3 separate regions of the Homo sapiens genome follow, and all the other regions are linked to region 2. The links are contacts of gene promoters, found by promoter capture Hi-C in blood cells and fetal thymus (Javierre and others, 2016). All regions are on one chromosome and are shown on one strand. Each heading gives the region's core, a stretch centred on a gene start or on the middle of the fragment in contact. The rest is flanking DNA. Distances are from core to core; before and after follow the strand shown.

Region 1 (2,969 bases), core at 402-2,901, 1.3 Mb after region 2:
GCTGGTCTTAAACTCCTGGGCTCAAGTGATCCTCCCACCTCAGCCTCCCAAAGTGCTGGGATTACAGGCATGAGCCGCCATGCCCAGCCAAGTTTTAATATACGTTTACTTATCTATATTACGCCAATAAGAAATTTGATGGATTTTTCTTTTTTTCGCTTTCAACTTGTTACTTACCAAGCAGCATTCTGTTTGTAAATAAAATCTATCTATCTCAAAGTACTAGAGCCTTTTGTTAACCAAATCAAGAAGAATATAACACCCCGGGATTGGTTTCATTTTGTCACTATAAAGCAGGGATTAGCAAACTTTTTCTGTAAAGATCCAGAGAATAAAATATTTCAGGCTTTGTGAGCCATACATGGTCTCTGTAGCATGTTCTTTTTCTTCCCCCCAACTCTTCAAACTCAACCCTTTAAAAATGTAAAAGAATATTCTTCTTAGGTTAAGGGCTCTACAAAAATATAAACCGTTAATAAAGCATCACTGAGGCAGCTCTAATTTCTAGGAAAAAATATATATACATGATATTAGACAGACACATAGAGAAAGGCAGAAAATAATCTAGACCACAGCAATGTTAGCTCCATTACCTATATAAAAATAACTAAGTTAGGCCAGGTGCGGTGGCTCACGCCTGTAATCCCAGCACTTTGGGAGGCCGAGGCGGCCAGATCATGAGGTCAGGAGTTTGAGACCAGCCTGACCAACATGGTGAAACCCCGTCTCTACTAAAAATACAAAAATTAGCTAGGTATGGTGATACGTGCCTATAATCCCAGCTACTCAGGAGGCTGAGGCAGGAGAATGGCTAGAACCTGGAAGGCAGAGGTTGCAGGGAGCCGAGATCGCACCACTGCACTCCAGCCTGAGCAATAGAGCAAGACTCCGTCTCAAAACAAAACAAAACAAAACAAAAAAAAAAAAAAAAAACAAAAAAAAATAACAAAAATAACTTGAGAGATGCTGTAATGGTGAGAGTTTAGAGCATTCCTGAGGACCTGGAGAAAACTCGTTTCTGAGAAGGACATTTTGAAGGTTTTGTTGCCTGAAAAAGTTATCTCTGGAATCACACTCCTAGATCTTTATTGAAGACTTGAAAAGAATTAGATTAGGACCATGCGGACACAGAAGGTCACCCCAGCTCTGATCGTTGCCATTACAGTTGCTACAATTGGCTCTTTCCAAGTTGGCTACAACACGGGAGTCATCAGTGCTCCTGAGATGATCATAAAGGAATTTATCAATAACACTTTGAGTGACCAGGCAAATATCCCTCCCTCTGAGATGTTGCTCACGTCCCTCTGGTCCTTGTCTGTGGCCATATTCTCCATTGTTGGTATGACTGGCTCCTTTTCCGTTAGACTCTTTATCAACCACTTTTTGACAGGTGCAATTCAATGCTTATCGTCAACCTGTTGGCTGTCTCTGGTGGCTGCCTTATGGGATTGTGTAAAGCAGCTGAGTTGGTTGAAATGCTGACCCTGGGCTGCTTGGTTATTGGCCTCTTCTGTGGACTGTGCACAGGTTTTATGCCCATGTACATTGGAGAGATCTCAGCTACTGCCCTGCAGGGTACCTTTGGCACTCTCAACCAGCTGGGCATCATTGTCAGAATTCTGGTGGCCCAGATCTTTGGTCTGGAATTCAAATTCATCCTTGGGTCTGAAGAGCTATGGCCGGTATTATTGGGCTTTACCATCCTTCCTGCTATCCTACAAAGTGCAGCCCTTCCATTTTGCCCTGAAAGTCCCAGGTTTTTGCTCATTAACAGAAAAGAAGAGGAGAATGCTAAGTAGATCCTCCAGCAGTTGTGGGGCACCCAGGATGTATCCCAAGACAACCAGGAGATGCAAGATGAGAGTGCAAGGATGTCACAAGAAAAGCAAGTCACCGTGCTGGAGTTCTTTAGAGTATCCAGCTACCAACAGCCAATCATCATTTCCATTGTGCTCCAGCTCTCTCGACAGCTCTCTGGAATCAATGTTGTGTTCTATTACTCAACAGGAATCTTCAAGGATGCAGGTGTTCAAGAGCCCATCTATGCCACCATTGGTGCACGTGTGTTTAATACTATCTTCACTGTAGTTTCCCTATTTCTGCTGCAAAGGGCAGGAAGGCGGACCCTGCATATGATAGGCCTTGGAGGGATGGCTTTTTGTTCCATGCTCATGACTGTTTGTTATTAAAGGATGAGTATAATGGGATGAGCTTTGTCTTTATCGGGGCTATCTTGGTCTTTGTGGCCTTTGAAATTGGACCAGGTCCCATTTCCTGGTTTATTGTGGCCGAACTCTTCAGCCAGGGCCCCCGCCCAGCTGCGACTGCAATGGCCGGCTGCTCCAACTATACCTCCAACTTCTTAGTCGGACTGCTCTTCCCCTCTGCTGCTTATTATTTAGGAGCCTGTATTTTTATTATCTTCGCCAGCTTCCTCATCACCTTCTTGACCTTTACCTTCTTCAAAGTCCCTGAGACCCATGGCAGGGCTTTTGAGGATATCACATGGGCCTTTAAAAGGCAGGCACATGGTGCAGATAGATCTGGGAAGGATGGCATCATGGAGATGAACAGCATCCAGGCTGCTAAGGAGACCACCACCAATGTCTAAGTCATGCCTCCTTCCACCTCCCTCCCAGCATGGGAAAGCCACCTCTCCCTGAATGAGAGACCTCATCAGGATGAACCCAGGACTGCTTCTGAATGCTGCTACTTGATTCCTTTCTTATCCCACGCACTCCATGCGCACCTCAAGGCTGGGGTTTGTTGGATTTTCAATGGTTTTTTAAATATTTTATTTCCTGGACATTCTCTTCTGCTTAGGAGAGACCAAGTGAACCTACCTTCATTTCAGGAGGCAATGGCCACTTGGCATATGACAACTTTGCCAGTTTTTCCTTCCTTGGGTTCTAATATTGCCGCACTAGGGGATATAGGAGAGGAAAAGTAAGGCGCAGTTCCCCCAACCT
Region 2 (3,142 bases), core at 49-2,548:
GTTGTATTTGATGTCGCTTCAGTGACCTTTTTTGTTAGTTTATTGTTACTTAAAATTAAGCAAAATCTTTCTTGCATGAAATCTTCTTGATTAATTATTGCCATATAGAATTTTCATTCACCTAATCTTTTTTTTTTTTATTTGAGACAGAGTCTTGCTTTGTTGCCCAGGCTGAAGTGCAGTGGTGGCATCTCGGCTCACTGCAACACTGCAACGTCTGCCTCCTGGGTTTAAGAGATTCTCCTGCCTCAGGCTCTGGAGTAGCTGGGACTATAGGCGGGCACCACCACCCCCCGCTAATTTTTGTATTTTTAGTAGAGACGGGGTTTTACCATGTTGGCCAGGTTGGTCTCGAACTCCTGATCTCAAATGATCTGCCTGCCTCGGCCTCCCAAAGTGCTGGGATTACAGGCGTAAGCCACCGCGCCTGGTCTCATTCGCCTAATCTTTATTGTCTACTATATTCAAAGTGTTGAGTGTGACAACAAGTCATTTAAAATTTAGTCTGGATTCTCAAGAGTTTGTAATATAATGAGGAAAAAATCCCAACGACTTTCTTTTACTCAGATCTCCATAATGTCATTTGCCATCAATAGTTTGGAATATCACTGAAGTCCAAGGGCCTGTGGCTACCCAATATTCCAAATACAATATAATTTGGTTCAAATAAGATATTAAGAACTTTGGTCAAGAACTTTGGTCAAACACAGGAGATCTGGAATCTAACGGCATGTCTTTGGCAATTCACAACCTCTCCCTCTACACGTTTCTCCATGTAGAAAGTAAAGGCCTTGGAAAGGATTGATGAAAACCAACCCTAAAACTCCACGATGCCTTTTTCTGTACTCCGAATCTAAAAGGGTGAGCTATGAAGTAAAACTCTGCACTTGGTCCAAGTCATTGAAATATTTGCAAACGATGCTAGAGCTCGAAAAGAGCAAAGATAGCAGAAACCGTCCAGAGAAAGTAACCTACTGCTGAAGCTCTGCAAACTTGAGCAGTCAACCAACTTCACCGCTCACAAACGTTTGGCCGCTAGGCATTGTGACTTTCTGCCCAGATAAAAGTCTTTTTTTCTTTTGTCTCCTTTTTTTCTTCCTCCCTGCTTTGCCGCGTGAGATTACCACTCCTCGGGTCAGCTCGCGAACGCCAGGGAGGCGAGTGTGAAACACACGCGCCAACACCCCTCCTCCTCCTCGTGCGCTCCTCCTTCCTACAGAAAAATGTGTTTCTAGGCAACGGCGGGCGGCGGCGTCACTTCCTGCCATTTAAACTCAGGTCCCCACCCCTCGCAGCCCCTTCTCCTCGTTTCCACCCCTCCCCCCTCGGTCGTGGGCCTCATTCACGCTTCCCCGGGCTTGGGGAGGGGGCGGAGGCCCGGCGTGACAAGCGGCCCAGACTCCCGTGGGCGCCGCACACCTGTTGTTTGCAGCAGCCAGCGACCCGCACTACCGCTCTCGGCGGGCGGGGAAGCGGCCGCAGCGGAGCCGACCCGGCAGGTGGCCGCGGGCGGGGCCGGCGAGCGAAAGTGCGCGGGGGCCCGACCACCGCGGGGCCGGGACGCGATGGCGGCGGCAGAGCCCGCGAGCTCGGGCCAGCAGGCGCCGGCAGGGCAGGGGCAGGGCCAGCGGCCGCCGCCGCAGCCTCCGCAGGCGCAAGCCCCGCAGCCGCCCCCGCCGCCGCAGCTCGGGGGCGCCGGGGGCGGCAGCAGCAGGCACGAGAAGAGCCTGGGGCTGCTCACTACCAAGTTCGTGTCGCTGCTGCAGGAGGCCAAGGACGGCGTTCTGGATCTCAAAGCGGTGAGCTCCGGAGGCGGGGACGGGGGCGGACTTCGGAACCCGTGGCCCCCGGGGAAGCCCAGCCCCTCGCCGCGTGGGTCTAGCGGCGTGGTGTAGACGCGCCTTGCGGGGACCCGGGACCGGGCAATCCGAGGACCATGTGGCCTGCGCCCGGGTCGTGGACGCCGGGATGGGGGAGGGACGAGGGACCAGGATGGCACCGAGCGGACGCGTAACCAATGGGGCCCGGCGCCACGCTGGGCTCTCGACAAAGAGCCCAGGACCTCGAGCGCGCCCGCGTGGCTTCTGTCTCCGGGCGCAGGGACCTGAGGGTAACCGAGTGTCTGTTGCTCTGCGTCCACCTGTGGCAGAGGCTCACGGGGTAACGGGCGCTTTGCCCGGAGACACCGTGGATATCGATTTTGCTGTTAAGAATGGATGGTTTTAATAGGCGATTCCAGTTGGAACCATGTTCCTGTAGTTTAAATAAAAAGGAGGAAAAACAAAACCCAGTCTGCCATCTCTACCAGATGAAAGAAAAAAAAAAAAGAGTACTTCTTTCCACGCCCCTCCCCGATAAAATAGTATTAAATCTTCCTTGTGCACTTCTTTCATCACCCTGATAGTTAGGAGGGGTATTTGATTTGTGACTTCATTTGGCATGTGTCATGGGTTTCCAAAAGTGAGATCTGCTGTCACACGAAAAGGGGATATTTTACAACTTTCACCCAAAGAGGTGGAAGTGCTCAGTAAACTCTCTCCCTGCGTCGTCCTTTACAGCGTTCAGATTTTTCAAACAGGAGCAGGCATCAAAAGCTGTTCTGTCATACAGAATGACTTAACCGATCTAGGAAGGATTTGGAAGAATTCAACAGCGCTCAGGATAATGAGAATGTGGTCACTCCGCGCGAAGTTTAAGAACTAAAGTTTTAGAAACAAACAAACAAAAAACACTAACTGCCCAATAATCACTGCAAATCCCCTTTGACTCCCTAAATGTGGCCTTACTTGGAGGATTGGCCCCAGCTCCCAGGGGAGTGCCTGGACCACCTTACCTGGCTTGAGAGTGTCACTGCATCCTCAAGGCTCTGCATAAAGCAGTGGCAGCTCCCTGAATGTAAGGACCAAGACTTGCAGGGGCCAACTCTTCTGCTAGAGGCCCTCCTCCAGTGTAGCCCAAGGGGAAGTAGATCTTTTCAGTGCCCTCTCCTTTCCCTGGATGTAGTTGGTGTTCAATCAGTGATTGTTGAACTGAATTACCTAAATTGTTCAACTTCATACAACTGAGGCATGCTGCACATATTTTGCATTTTGGTAAGTAATTTCTACTATTTTCTTTTTGATATGTTATTCCTGGAATTTTT
Region 3 (2,880 bases), core at 4-2,503, 1.2 Mb after region 2:
AGCCTCAAACTACTGGGCTGAAGTGATCCTCGTGCTTCAGCCTCCCAAGTAGTTGGGACTGCAGATGTTCAACACCTTGCCTGGCTAATTTAAAAAAAAATTTTTTTAGAGACAGGGTCTCACTATGTTGCCCACGCTGGTCTTGAACTCTTTGTTTCAAGCAATCCTTTTGCACCACCCTCCCAAATTGAGCCACTGTGCCTGGCCTGTAACTCTCTCCTCTTAATCAAAAAATCTCCATTCAAAATGACATTATCATAATATCTGTTTTTATCCTACTACACCAGTTCAAAATAACATGAAAATTACCAAAAACAGAGGGAGAAGGAGGTGAAAAAAAGGTAATTTAAAAAATTACCAAAAACAATAGGTCTACTCATTGCAGTTTAAGATTTCTTTGTGTGTTTTCCCCCTTTAGGACGTATAATCAAAATACCATGTTTTAATGTACTTTAGTAATTCTCTATTTGGTTATATCACCAAATTGATAATTAGTTAAGTTCATCGTTTTCAGTTTTTTTTTTAATTTTGTTTTATAACCTTGTAAGACATTTACATAGTCCCAGAGTCAAAACCAAGGTACATTTAGAGAGGTCTGGCTACTTGGTCCCATTTTCCCACTTCTCTCCCTTGCCCTGTAGGTTCACATTTTTATTAGTTTTGCTTTATCCTTCTGTTGCTTCTTTTTGAAAATATAAGCAGATACATGTGCAGTATACGTATCTCATCTCTCCTCTTAATCTCCTAATTCTTGCATACTTCTCTGTGCTTTGCTTTTTTTAACTTTACAGTATTATTCTGGAGTTTGTTTCATAACAGAATATTCTTTTTCATCATTGCGCCATATCCTGTTGAATAGATGTAAAAAAGCTAACTAGTCTCCTTTTGCTGGACATTGGCGTTCCACTGTTTGCTATTACCAATAGTGCTGCAACAAATAACTTCATACAAAAGTCGTTTCTTATGTCTGCTCATGTATCAATAGGATAGGATCCTAGAATGAGATTGCTGGGTCAAAGGGTAGACACATGTAATTTTGCCAGGTATTGCCAAGTTCCTCTCCATGGGGTCTGCACCATTTTGTGTCTACACCAGCTATACATGACAGTGCCTGTTTTCCCAAAGCCTAACCAAAATCTGTTGTCAAGCTTTGGGATTGTTCATAATTAGACACTGAAGTGGTATCTTAGTGTTATTTAAAATAGCATTTCTCTCACTGTAAGGTTGAACTATAAGGGATATTTGGATTTTGGTTTCTGTGAATAATGGGCATCTATTTTTGAAACAGTTCTGATGAAGCTGATAGGTACTCCACTGAAGAACCACTTACATAATTCCTTCTACTTTTGCTCTGTATAAGAAGCTTAGAGCCCTATTTTCACTACATTTTCAGTTTATTGTAACTTGCGTAGGACCAATGGACAGTACACCTGAGGTGTAACTTTCAAATGATCTTGACCTATGTATAAGAGTTCTTAGGTAAAATAAGAAAAAACTAGGCCAGGCGCGGTGGCTCATGCCTGTAATCCCAGCACTTTGGGAGGCCGAGGCAGGTGGATCACGTGAGGCCAGGAGTTTGTGACTGGCCTGGCCAACATGGTGAAACCCCATCTCTACTAAAAATACAAAAATTAGCCGGGCATAGTGGCACATGCCTGTAATCCCAGCTACTTGGGAGGCTTAGGCATGAGAATCACTTGAACACTGGAGGTGGAGGTTGCAGTGAGCCGAGATGGCGTCACTGCATTCCAGCCTGGGGGATAAAGTGAGGCTCTGTCTCAAAAAAAAAAGAAAGAAAAAGAAAAGAAAAAGAAAAACCTGATCTGGCTAATTTGAGGTGAAAAAGAACATACTGAAAGACTATCAGGTGACTCAAATCTGGAGAACCAGTTGGAAAATAGATGTGGACCAAGGCAGTCTAAGTAGCCAAAACAATGCCATGACAGTATTTATCATTTTGAGCGTCAGTTGCTGCTCTCCTTTGAAATACAGTGATCCTTTTGGGAAAGAATGATCATGGACCTGTGCTAAATGGCACCAGGTTTTAGTGCCTTCTTTTCTTCTTGTCTTTGTCTTCCGTTTTGTTGATCTAATTTTTAAAATAAAAGTCACCTTAAAATTACCAGTCTTACTGATCTCACAATAACTTCTGCAATAAAGATTACTACTCCTGATTTGTCAGTGAGGACACTGAGAATCAGAGGGATTAAGTGCCTTGGGTTAATAATGAGAAACCAACTGAGGTCTTAGGACTCCAAGTTGTTGCTCCTTTTATTAGATTACAAAGACCTCTGTATTGATTTTTTCTTTTTTTTGAAATGGAGTCTTGCTCTGTTGCCCAGGCTGGAGTGCAGTGGCGTGATCTTGGCTCACTGCAACCTCCCCCTCCTGGGTTCAAGTGATTCTCCTGCATCAGCCTCCCAAATAGCTGAGATTACAGGTGCATGCCAGCATTCCTGTCTAATTTTTTTTTTTTTTTTTGTATTTTCAGTAGATACGGGGTTTCACCGTGTTGGCCAGGCTGGTCTCGAACTCCTGACCACAGGTGATCCGCCTGCCTCGGCCTCCCAGAGTGCTGGGATTACAGGCTGAGCCACCACGCCCAGGCTTTTCTTTTCTTTTTAAAAACAGTAAGTACTCAGATTAAGACCCCTCTAATATTGCAGTCTGGCTGTTTATTGTCTGTAAACCGAGGTTCTCTGCCCTAAGCCAATTTTTTTTTTTTATTTTTAGCATATTTACTCTTATCCTCATTTCTGTTCTTAACCCTTATCTGATTGGCAGCAACATGTAAGAATAAGAGCATTGATCATGGAACGCGGAAAAACTGATGGAAAAAATCAAACAGAAAACTACCTATTGTCATATAGTAATATACTG

Evidence for each region. Contacts are between HindIII fragments. The CHiCAGO score rates a contact against its expected background, and 5 or more counts as called.
Region 1: a contact is called between a fragment that was not itself captured here and the fragment with the promoter of E2F5 in region 2, in 1 of 17 cell types (total B cells). The highest score is 5.5, in total B cells.
Region 3: a contact is called between a fragment that was not itself captured here and the fragment with the promoter of E2F5 in region 2, in 1 of 17 cell types (fetal thymus). The highest score is 6.6, in fetal thymus.

What each region holds. Positions count from the first base shown.
Region 1 is chr8:86,502,457-86,505,425 of GRCh38, forward strand. All of the region lies in intron 2 of RMDN1 (regulator of microtubule dynamics 1), which reads right to left. It also overlaps the pseudogene SLC2A3P4. Among named protein-coding and RNA genes, the nearest start is that of RMDN1, 4.7 kb to the right of the region's middle. The HindIII fragment of the contact is 3,916 bases long and covers 1-2,969 here.
Region 2 is chr8:85,175,856-85,178,997 of GRCh38, forward strand. E2F5 (E2F transcription factor 5) reads left to right here and starts at 1,299. Exons shown (of 8, transcript NM_001951.4): 1 at 1,299-1,799. The coding sequence starts at 1,566. It overlaps E2F5-DT (E2F5 divergent transcript), which reads right to left and starts at 1,186. Exons shown (of 3, transcript NR_134311.1): 1 at 976-1,186. RefSeq lists an enhancer at 960-1,129 and silencers at 1,230-1,759, 1,770-2,159. The HindIII fragment of the contact is 15,711 bases long and covers 1-3,142 here.
Region 3 is chr8:86,374,789-86,377,668 of GRCh38, forward strand. The region is part of intron 3 of WWP1 (WW domain containing E3 ubiquitin protein ligase 1); the gene reads left to right. Among named protein-coding and RNA genes, the nearest start is that of WWP1-AS1, 32 kb to the left of the region's middle. The HindIII fragment of the contact is 215 bases long and covers 1,147-1,361 here.